Regions from separate parts of the Homo sapiens genome. Here region 2 is linked to region 1. The links are contacts of gene promoters, found by promoter capture Hi-C in blood cells and fetal thymus (Javierre and others, 2016). All regions are on one chromosome and are shown on one strand. The core of a region is centred on a gene start or on the middle of the fragment in contact, and the rest is flanking DNA. Distances in the headings are between cores, read along the strand shown. Region 1 holds the start of RGS13 (regulator of G protein signaling 13). Region 2 overlaps LOC107985242 (a long non-coding RNA gene).

Region 1 (6,158 bases), core at 1-2,500:
TCATGGCTTATTATAAAAATTTCTTTACTGTTTTAATTTGTAATTTTCCATTACTTTTTATTTAAATAATCTATATTTATCTTAATATTGTGTATTAATTTGCTTTCCTTTTTTGTTTTTCAATACCCTCTTGGTAAAACTAGTGTGTACTTTTACAATCGAAACATAGAGTGTTTAGAACAAGTTTAGGTCTCCACGATGATTTTGCCTCCACTGTTTTCTCCTGATAATTATTTGAAAGAAATACATTTCACCGATAGAATCTAATTCTCAGAGTGATTATAAATGCATTGGTAATGGATTGAGTTGTATTAGTAGTATGCCAGAATTAGATTTGTTTCCTCCATTATTTAAATGAAATCTTAAAGTATTATGAAAATAAATAAATTTTCTTAAAGCAATTCTGTCTGTTTACATATATCTGCATTTAAATATGTTTCTTTATTTTATGATATAGCATGTTACATAAAATTTAGTAAAATTTGGAGCAATTTATATTTTAGTGAGCTTTTGTTGACCACAGCACACAAATTTCTTGTCCTTTAAAAAATTCAAGAAATTTGTGCATAGTTGTGCTTAAGCATAACATAAAAGAATAAAAAAATTCTACAAAATCAAGATTAACAATGTTTCAGATAAACCTTATAATAATCCACACCTGGCTTCAGTACAGTTAACAAAGGATGGAACTAATAATTTGGTAATGCATGATTTTTGAAACAAATAATTCAGCTATGTCTGATTTTATAATATGTTTTTATCTAAACATATAAAATGAAAAACATTTAAAATGAAAATATACACAAAAACATAAAATGAAATAATATACTTTAAAACTGTAGCATTTCCTCTGTTGCCCAACTTAGAAGATTTATTTATATAAGGAGTGACTCTAAGTTTTGTTTTAAATATAGAAAGCCAGGCAAAAGAATATGTGTTTGTTAGTTTGTCTTTTTTTCTTAGAAAAACCTCTGTTAACACTCCCAGAAGTTCTACCATTGAAATCAGCATCTGCTAGTGATTTATAGCAAGCCAATAGTCTTGTATTTATCAACTATTTTATAGAATCTCATACTTACAAATATATCCTGTCGAGCAGTCCACCATGCTAAATTTGATCTCCTCTTTGTTATGATCCGTTTGAAATCAGGTTCTGAAATTTTGTGAGACACCCAGCATTTTATTTTTCCCAGAGTAAAAGGATTTTACTGTCTCTATAATTACCTTCGATGGCACTCTGGCCTCAGTATGAATGTTCTGTTTTTACACACACGTATCTATGCAAAGAGAGGTTTTGTTGAATATGGAAAGTAGTGCTGTAGGACTCCAGTGCATTACTGATAAAGAGGTTTTATCTAACATTATCAGACCATCTGAAGTGATCAGATGATTGGAAGCAGCAGCTTCATGAAATCTTCAAAGTAATACTCAAATCTTTTTCTCCAAAATAATTTTTCTAGTTTTAGAAAATGTATAGTCTAAAGTAAAATTCCCTTTTAAAAAAGACAGAGAACTGAGTACAAACACATAGGACATCACTGCAAACACATGTTAGCAAATGGTTGAGAACTATTAAAATCAATCTGTTTGTAATAGATTACTAGGGACTTTTAACAACTGAAGGATCTAAAAAAGTATCTTTTCTAGTTATACCTCTCTAGTTCCTTCAACTGGTCCTCTACAGCAGTTCTGGACTCCGTTGTTCTACAGTTTGTTAACATGCCTTCAAAATCTGAATTGAACACAGTGCTTAAGATAAGGTCTAATGAATACAGAATATGGTAAGATTGTGAATGCCCTTGTCCTGGATTTACTCCAATTGTGTGTGTGTGTGGGGAGGGGTGGGGGAGTTGGGGGGTTTGGGGGGAGAGAGAGAGAGAGAAACAGAGAGGTAGGAGTAAAGAAATGCTAGAATAAAACAGCAGTAAAGAAGATCAAAATGTGGTTGATGGAGTGTTTCTTAAAATATTTAGGGGCCCAATGAGATAGAAGATTAACCTTACTTGTCTTTTATAATTTTGAGATTCAAACCCAAGAAAATTGAATTTCTCAAACCTGAGAGATAAGTTTGGGACTAGAAAAGGAAAGGAAACTTTGGAAAGTCAGAAGCTGCGTAGATGTAGCAATAATGTAGGAAGTGAAGGGCAGGTTAGCCTCAGCTTGGGAGGATCTGGGTTGTTTGTGGATAGCACTCATTTTCTCTGGGTGCTAGGTGTGCGATTTCCTCCCCACTCAGGACATTTTGGATGCTGGATCTCTTCAGGAAATCTTCAGTGTCATAGTCAAGACTTTTCCTCACCCCAAATAATTCATTTTTTTGGGATTTGGAATGTTTGCTCTTTCTCATGGTGTGGATGCAAGGAGCTGGCAGGAAGATTCTGGAAGTAACACCCTGTGCGAGTGTCAGTTTCAAAGCTTGTTTAATGGAGTCAAACATGAGAATCTCCCTACAGAGTAAAACTTAAGTATCGACAGGGACTGAAAAACAAATAAATCATAGAGTGAAGAGTAACAGCACGAGTAGGTGGAAATTCCTGGAGGAATTCAAGAGCAATGTGTAGATATTTGTGGCAGATTTCTAAACATGGTTTTGTTTCTCTGAAAAAGTGTAGTTCAAGTTCAGTTTATGAAATCATAGCAATATAATGCTTTGTACGGCACATAGGTGGATCAGACTAATTCAGAGCTGTCAGGTTAGGGCAGGTAACAGGATTATGCTTTCGTTGGTGCAGCTTGGGAATGCCCTTTCCATTGAAAGGCTGTCCTTCTGATGAACTGATCTGCTTACTCTAGAGCACTTTTACTATATTTCAATTTCAGCCAATGTAAGTCCAAAGTAACACAAGTTCAAATGTGCACAATTAAAAATCTTTAATATTTTTATGTTGAAAGTTCAAAATGAACTTTACAAGAGCAGAAAAATGAAGTATTAGAAATTATAAATTCAGAATTTGCCATTTATGTCTTCTACAAAAAGTGGAGAAATATAATTACTGGTTAATGTTCGTGATGACAGCTTAAGAAATAAGCCTACTATTTTCAGTGCATCCTATTTATACTATATAGTGTTTGCCATTTGTTCAGAGGGTGGCTCTTTTCAATATATTCTAGAAGCAAGATAAACTCTTGGACACTGGGGTGAATTGTCTGGTGAAATGTATCCAGTAGGCAGTGGTTTGTGCCAGTGTTTGGAAGAAGACTGGCTTCTGCTCCTGCTTTCCATGGACGCTGATCTGTCCCTCTTAGCCTTTCAGGTCTGTCCTCTCTGCCTTCATTTTCTTCCAAGCTTCTTTGCAGCGCATTCTCAGTCTGTCTTCATACACTCATTGTCCGCATCTTGGAGTGGACGACTCAGAGACTTGACCAGTCTCCCGTCCCCTCTGGTTTGCTGCCAATTAGAAACAATCTAACTTTGGTTTCTGACTTGTGTGAACCCAAAATATACCGACAACAAAAATTAGGAAGAGATTACTGAGCATTGAACACTATTGTTAGCATAAAATAAACCTCAGTAGCAATTAAAGTTAGTTACCAATTCTGTGTGCATTTATTCAGATGATTTGCTTTAAAGATGTCTTTAATTATAATCATGGTCCTGTTATGCTATAAAGTTTAGTCACTAACTCCCAATCATTCTTAGTTCCCTTTTGGTAGCTGCTTTAAATCCATTCTCTTGGCCCTTCCAGAAAGTCGGCAGTGCTCTCAGGTTTCAGATCTCCAGCATGTAATTGAAAAAACCAGTGGTCCTACTTGGTTTCTATTTTCTTCTGAGCACTTGGTGGATTGTCTTGTCCTTCCTGACTAAATTCTGGGGAATTCATTCAAATCTTATTGTTTCCACCAGTGTATTTGGGGTAACATTAACATAGGAAAGTGTTCTTTTCCCGGAAAAAAAAAAGGAGACACTCCACAGTTGTTTAATTTGCACTGAGATGAGTCTATTAGCTCTTTTGTACTTTCACATTGTTTGATCTGTGAAATTCTCTAAGGATGGGGTTAAGGGCACGTCCCTTTGAAGAGGATTTGCACTGGCTCTGTCAGGCAGCCCAGGCACTTCTCTAACACAAGACTGCTTTGTTATTTTCTTAGCTTGGGTCTCCTGGACCACACAGGTAGGGTAAATTTAAATTACAGACCTGGTTTTATGCTGAAATAGACATGTTCCTGTCATCAATTTTTGTAGGTGACTTGTTTTTTTTCTGTCTGCTGTTTCACTGAAGGTATAGCAGTTCAAGAGCCCCCGGCTCATATTAGGACAGCCTTTGATTTTGTTTCCTGGCTTGCAACAGATCTTAAAAGCCAGATCTCTAGGTTACTGAGATTAGCAAATGCTGAACTCAGCTAAACTTTAAATGCCAGTTTATCACTCTGATTTAGGATTCCCTCTGTTTTTTTCTTGATTTCTCTTAGTTTTGGCAAGCTTGCCTATGCATTTAAATGGGGTTGTTACATATTTTTTTTTAGCATTTCTGGATGTCTGGTAGAGAGAAGATTTTCAAGATATGTCTCGTCTACCATGCTTTCCTTTTATATAAGATAATGTTATATACTCATTTTAGATAAAAGTAAATGCAATAAAATGTCAAGGAAATTGGAACTTTAGCATTTCCTTGTTATCACAGATGGAAAGCATCGTTTGCTTCTTTAGATGCGGAATGCTTTGAACATACAAGGCCCACTGATGTGCAGTTGCAAAGCTGAAGCCTGTTTCCAATCACCTAATCAACTCACTATCCCTTATTGTTTAGATAAGCCTGTCCTGTTCTGCCATGTGCAAAGTATATAAATTTTCTACTATAGAAGTACAGAACAAACATACTTGTGCCACATTTCCGGTTTTTTTTTTCTTATCACAGAAATTAAAATGGTTTTTCTGTAGATCACCATTGAAATACTTTTTGTCTTATTCTTGAAACAAATCTATCCTCAGGACTTACGTGGTGTCTGGTGATTGAGGGCAGTAGATGGCTAGGTAGTGAATCAGAGGCAGGGAACATTTTAAAAGAAATAGGTACCTCAGTCAGCTGATAGGAGAGACTAAAAGAGCGCAGAGCTCAGAATTAGCCTGCATTCCTTCTCCCTGCTTTACCAAAGGAGTCTCCCACTTTTCTCATTCATGCTTCAAATGCATATGTGGACATAGCATTCAGACTGATGTAGTAGATGCTCAATAAATATTCAAAGAATAGATGGATATAGTTTTTTTTTCCCAACAGGATTTATCCAAGCTAAAAACTACCCTAATGTTCATTTTAACCAATTTTCACTTAGATAAAAATTATAGGGTGAAGTTTGGGAAGGATTATATTGTACAAGCTTCCCATATCTCATACTTTCCTAAGAAGTAGTTCTGCCTCTCTGACTGTAACCTTTTTGTAACCTATAATTTGTGTAGTGGTTAATGAGATATATCTGGAGATGCTTTGTAAGTATAATTTACACAAATATATATTTTTATGAGGCATGCAAATTTAAACAATGGTGTCCTTGTGACTTAGTCAAACAAGGAACTAGAATAAAATACAAGGCAAATGTTTTTCTTTAGGATTATGACACTATATCTTAAAACCTCTGAAAGATATGATAATGCAAATAAGATTAGATAAAACAAGTTTAGTTTTGTAGAAAAGGCAAAGAATTTTAAAAATTGCAATCCCAGAAGCTTCAGAAACCTACTTTGGTATGCTTTCCTCCATACAAAAAGTGTTGTTTAATTCCCCCTCAAGTCTGAATATTTGAGGAGTTGCTTTAAGAACTGTAAAACTAGTGCATCAACTACATGCTTTTTGCAGATATGGAAAATATTTTCTTAAAACATTTTTACACAAAGGAAAAGTAATTTTGCCCAAAGAAAATAACATCCAAAGGAAAATGAAGAGTGATTGGTGTTATAAGAAATATAATCCTGGAGGCCTGGAACTACATAAGGCATCCTGAATGTACAGCGTGGGGCCAATAGAGATTACACAAATGATTTTTATAGATGAAGCTGAGCAAAGGGGCAGAATGGGAAGAAGAACAACGGGGACCGAGACACAAGAAGGATGACTTTTGTTTGAAAAAGAAAATGTTCAGGGCATTAAAAACACATGCCCTTTTTTTACCCCATAACATTTTCAAACACTACAGAAAATAATATCTAATAAACCGTGAAGCTT
Region 2 (5,946 bases), core at 1,462-3,961, 1.7 Mb before region 1:
AGAGTGTCATCAATTAAGGCTGACATTTGTCTCTATCATAAGACTATAATTTATGTTTTTATACTTTATATTCAGTATTAACAATAAAACCTATTTGCATATGACTATAATTAAACTAGCATTTATCTTTAAATTTTTTATAAGCATTTAAAAGATGTTACATGTTTTTATCCACTTGTACCATTCAAGTAAATAACTATAGATTAGGCTTAGATCAGCTTGTTACCCAATAACAGAATTTGTTGGCTTTCATGTTTTATGGAAAACTGACTGCTGTTCAGACTATTGACACTAAACTGTAGGGAGTATTTTCACTGACTATACCCTGGTGTTAATATAATCTATAACTTTCAGTAAAAATATTAATGTTTTTAGAATTTTAGATACCAGGGTGTTTCAATCCATCATTTGTATTCCTTTTTATGAGATAAATGAATCCAAATTTCAGTGTACAATACCTGCTGTAAAATGTTTATATCAAATGTAAAATATAGACAGCAGTAAAATATGGGATGTGAAAGATTTAGTAATTTTTTTATTTCTTGTCAAACAGTAGGATAATATTTAGAGATAAGAGGCAAAATTTATCCTGAGTAAGGGAAAGTTATTCTGCCTTTTAAAATGTTCGTAAGCCTATCCAAGGTTTCAGTATTTTTGTGTGTTTTTTATTATTAGAGGAAAGTTAACAATTCCCTTTGATCTTAATGATGTTACATCATTGTAGCATGAAAGGAATAGTATAACCTCAACCAACTTTTTCTGTATTTAGTTTTCAGCAGTGCTGACAATTGTCTATGCCATGATAAAAAGAGAACGAAAATGTGTTGGAAGAGGCACCTGGGAGTGTAGTTGTCTCAGAGGGAACACCACATTTGTTCCTATGACACATTTTCATTGAAAGAAAAAAGAAAAAGAAGAAAGAAAAAGAAAGAAAGAGAGAAAGAAAGAAAGCAAGCAAGATAGCAATCAAGCAAGCAAGGAAGGAAGAAGAAAGCATCTTTTCTATTTCCCTTTCTTTTTATTTCTGTGTCTTTATTTCTCCTCTCTCTCTCTTCCACTTACTCCTCTCTTCCTCTCCCCTTCCTTCCCTCTCATCCTCGCCCCTTCTCTTCTTCTTTTTACCCCTACCCCCACCACCTTGTTTCTAGTCTTCCACAGTATTTTCTTACTAATACAAGGAGTGACTTAGTCCTGGTTAGAACAAATATCATAGAACGTCTTTACACTAAGCCTAGAGGTTTGCCTGTTGAAAGAAAACCACTAACTAAGTTTATCAAGGCATTGATCACCACCACCCCATTTACATGCTTTAATATTATATAGTATGCACCACATGACGTTAAAACATCAGGTTAAATTGCTTTTCTTTCAGAATAAACAGAGGCAAAAAGATGTAGTTATAATGTGTAGTAAAGTTTCTACATCTGCAGGATATACTCCTTTTTAAGACTTATTATTTTGATGATGGTGTACAATAAATCTCATTACTTGTGGGAGCCAAAAAGTTAACTGCTAATTCCATGGGTACCAAGGGGGCTGGACCCTATTACCAATTGTCTAGTACTAAGAATGACCTCATTATGTTATGATAAAAATTTTTAGCACATTCTAGACACTGAAAGACAGAGGTAAGTAAAGCCAGGTTAATCAAAATAGGGATCTTATAGCCTAGTAGAAGAGGTAACCCATAGAAAACAGATTTTTATACAGTACACTAAGTGATGATATAATGGTATGTTTAGGTTGCCATCGTAAATGAGGTAAATTCAACTCATATCAGAGATCCAGGAAAGGAGTTTAAAGGAAATACTTAATATGAGTCTTTAATAATAAATACAAAATTTTAAAATAAAGAATGGAAAAAAGTCATTTTCCTTCAGCACACTGTCAGAACATCACAAAGATGTGAAAATAAATATTTCATGTAGGAAATTCTGGCTTGTTCTGTTGCAGAAGCCTTACTCCTTAGCTTAGCGAGGTCTGAGTTCTTGTCTCACCACCACGATGAATGAGGTACATGGACATAGGAGGGTGAGTATGGCAGAATAGACTTTATTAAGTGACAGAAAGCGCTCAGTAAGGAGAGGGGACTCAAAAGTGGGTTGCCCTAGGGGATTAAAAACCTCATTTCTAGGGGTGTGTTTCTCATTTGCATCTTGCACAACCTTTTACTTCCTAGTTGCTTCCTGGTCCCAGTTCTTACTGCCCAGGTGCGTTCTTGTCCATAGTTATTCCATCTTAATTATTATGCATAAGCACCACAGAAAGGCCCAGTGGGTAGTAGGGGTGGTGGTGGTGAAACCACAATGCAGATGTCATGCTAATGATATTATAATGAGCTTGAGTCAAGTTAAGGACATTTAGTTGATTTATTACACCTGCGCCTAAGTTGGGACAGTCCCTTCTGAGCAAACATTCTGGTATAAGAGGAAGTTCTTAACCACATTTCCATCTGCTAGCTGCATAACAGGGGCAATGCAGGTGCATTCCTGCATGCATTGTCTCTCTCATGAAGCCCTACATCTCCATCGTACCACTTGCATACATAAAAAAGGTAAGTGAGATTAAAGATACACTTGGATAGAAGCAGGTCACAAGGGCTCTTGTGTTTTGTTAGAAATATCAGCATTATTATAATTTGAAATATGTTGTAATGAGCATTTATATGACACTTCTATATTTCCCCAAGAACCAGCTGCATATTTTTAAATATTGTATGTTTAAGATTTTCAAGAGGCTTGTAAATTTTTTGAGTTTCATAATCTTTAACAATGCAAACCAAAATACTTAATCAGTTCTTACTTAGTCATTTATGAAGTTACCCATGGGAAAATTATGTTTACTGATATTTTAACCCTGTTTCTATCACTTACTTATTCATCCAACTTCCAAAACCAGTGTTCTTTGGCCCTTCTCCTCAGTTTGTTTTGTTAATAAAAGTTATAAATTTAAAAAATAATAATAATAGAAAAATACATCTGTAACAAGCCATTATTTTATGCTATTTCTCTTCTTCCCAAATTTGGACTAAAAAGGATTTAAATATAAATGTTTGTTTTAAGTTTTTTATTTTATTTTAGTTCAGGTATTGGTTTTTACTGGAGAGGTTAGAGAAAGTGATTTCAAAGGGCAAAATCAACTCAAAATTGTAAAAGGAGAAAATGGAAAAAAAAAAGCGATGATATTCATGACTGATTATCTCCTTCAAGAAAGGAGGGAGGAAATGAAATGTGCTCAGTCTTCTCTTGTAATCTCTTTTCCCAAAGTTACCTCTTGACATTTTTGGATGTTCTGTCACAAGAAAGTTGATCTTTCCATTTCTTTGGTTACTTAGCTTTTAATCTATCTGTTTGCATACATGCTAGAGAGCGATGAGTGATTTGTCGTCTACATAGAAGTGGAAATTTATAGTCTGAAAGAAAATAATAGTTTTCTTTTCTTTTATCTGTTTTATTATTTTCATTATTTGAAATTCTAGTAAGTAATATTCTTCCTTCAAAGTAGCTGTCACTTACAGCTTTCTTAACCTGAGTCTCAGAAAGAATTCAACAAAGCTGTATCTTTCTGTCTTTAAAATATTATTTCTTCCTGTTTCTATCAGTCACTTATGTCATAATAAATATTAAAACTGACAGGCAATATATTTTAAGTGCTACTGTAAAAGCATTGTTTTGCTATAAATAAACAAGCTCATTTCTCTAGGACTTAAATAGGAATACAGATTTGATACATTCTCTTCCCCTATTAAACATCTGTGGCAAGATGCCATTAGGGAGTTGTTAGATTTGCTGGAATTTTCCACTATGCCAGATATTAAATTACCTGTCATATGTGTTCTGAAGTATACAGAAGGTTGTAATCGTATAAGGATGCTGAATGTGCTGACATTTTCATTGCCCTGAATATAAGTAAACATAATTATTGGCTCTTCCTATAGGGTTTTAATTGATATGTTGACCAGTAGCCATGAGTGGGTTTGTGAAGACAACAGGATATAAAAATGGATGTCTTTACAAATCCACTGTCTTTTGTAAAGAAATGCATCATAGAGCAATTATAAAATAATTTGCATTATTTTATATCATTAAATTAATATCAGGGTATAGGTTATGAAAACTACATGATTCAAAATAGACACTATAAAAAAAGAATGCTGTTGGAGTGGGAAGAGGCCAAATGAGCAGCCACCATTTTGCACCTCTACTGTGGCATGGCCACGTTGCACAGTGCTCAGTCAGGAAATGCGATTTACACATCCAACTCCTAGCCTATTCTTCCCAATTACTATGATTTTCTTCCTGCTTTTGTCACTATTTCTGAGTTCCCATTTATCTAGTACACTGGGATTGGGTAACTGCAACTCTGGATACTTAATAATTAAAAAATTGCATTATTAGGAATGATATTCGACTTCCCACATAGATTCTTGTGTTTTTCTCAAGTCTTTTTTCATGTTCTGTATTGAAATCTATCCCCGTATAATCAACCTACTTTCCATGTTTCTGGGTCTCTGAATAAATTCCTTCTTGGATTTGTCTGTACATAATGGCATATTGTGGCTATTTTCCCATTCTCATATATTTTATGAGGAGAGGTCTTGCAATTCTCAAGGCAAATCAGGAATGATCTGCCATGTTTTAGTTCAAAAATTACTTCTGGATGAGCACAGTGGCTCCCATCTGTAATCCCAGCAGTTTGGGAGGCTGAGGTGGGAGTATCACTTGAGGCCAGGAGTTTGAGACTAGCCTGGGCAACATGGCAAGACCCTGTCTCCACAAAAATTTCAAAAAACCAAAAACTCAGCCAGATGCAGTGGTGCACACCTGTAGTACCAGCTACTCCAGAGGCTGAGGCCAGGAGAGTTAATTGAACCCAGGAGTCAGAAGTTGCAGTGAGCTACGATCATGCCACTGCACTTCAGACTGGGAAATAAAGCAAGACTGTATCTCAAAAAAAAAAAAAAAAAATTACTTCTGTCATTAAACTGGTACATAAATTCAATAATATGTAGGAATGAAAAACATCCTTAAAGTTGTAAGGATTGGTCCGGCACGGTGGCTCATGCTTGTAATCCCAGCATTTTGGGAGGCCAAGGCGGGTGAATCACCTGAGGTTGGGAGTTCGAGACTAGCCTGACCAACATGGAGAAATGCCGTCCCTACGAAAAATACAAAAAAATTAGCTGGGTGTGGTGGTGCATGCCTGTAATCCCAGCTTTTCAGGAGGCTGAGGCAGGAGAATCATTTGAACCCAGAAGGCAGAAGTTGCAGTGAGCCAAGATGGCGCCATTGCGCTCCAGCCTAGGCAACAAGAACGAAACTCTGTCTCGAAAATAAAATAAAATAAAATAAAATAAATTGTAAGGATTATTGTGATTTCTGATTGAAAATTCAAATATCTACATTGTTTAAATATATATAACTCTGGGACTTTGCTTTTCAGAATCACTCACTTTTTCATTCATTTATTAATTATTCATATTAAAATAACTTAATGATAACCTAATATTTGCCAAGCTCTATTCTAATCACAGATCTATCTGCAGAAATCTCTGTAAAAATATACAATATAAATGTATAAAGACTTCTGCTTTGTAGAGCTTACATTTTAATGAGAAATACCAATGAACCAAGATAAGTACCAATAAGATACCAGTAAGAAGCTTATAAGGCCCATGAAAAGAAAAACTAGTACAAAATAAGGGAAATTGAGAGTGTGGGGTGGGGTGGGGCGGGCATTTGCATTGTGTAGTGGAGATAGCAGGTAAAGCAAATACCTATTGTCTTCATATGTTTTACATTAGCAAGGGGTCAATGTGGATGGAGTGGATGAGGGAAAAAATAGTTAGAATTAAAGTTAAGAAGAGGGGAAAGAAGGAGGGGTATTTTAGGTAATAAAGAGTGTTGAAAGTGACTATGAAGATTTTAGGCTATAAGTGAAATTAGG

Evidence for each region. Contacts are between HindIII fragments. The CHiCAGO score rates a contact against its expected background, and 5 or more counts as called.
Region 2: a fragment that was not itself captured here is called in contact with the fragment with the promoter of RGS13 in region 1 in 1 of 17 cell types (total B cells); the score reaches 5.4 in total B cells.

What each region holds. Positions count from the first base shown.
Region 1 is chr1:192,631,239-192,637,396 of GRCh38, reverse strand. It overlaps RGS13 (regulator of G protein signaling 13), which reads right to left and starts at 1,250. Exons shown (of 7, transcript NM_002927.5): 1 at 1,080-1,250. It overlaps LOC107985241 (a long non-coding RNA gene), which reads right to left. Exons shown (of 2, transcript XR_001738348.2): 2 at 2,847-3,388. The HindIII fragment of the contact is 2,675 bases long and covers 1-2,417 here.
Region 2 is chr1:194,286,204-194,292,149 of GRCh38, reverse strand. The region is part of intron 2 of LOC107985242 (a long non-coding RNA gene); the gene reads left to right. LOC105371670 (a long non-coding RNA gene) reads left to right here. Exons shown (of 3, transcript XR_922390.2): 3 at 770-911. Among named protein-coding and RNA genes, the nearest start is that of LINC01031, 980 kb to the right of the region's middle. RefSeq lists a silencer at 2,384-2,584. The HindIII fragment of the contact is 5,907 bases long and covers 1-5,664 here.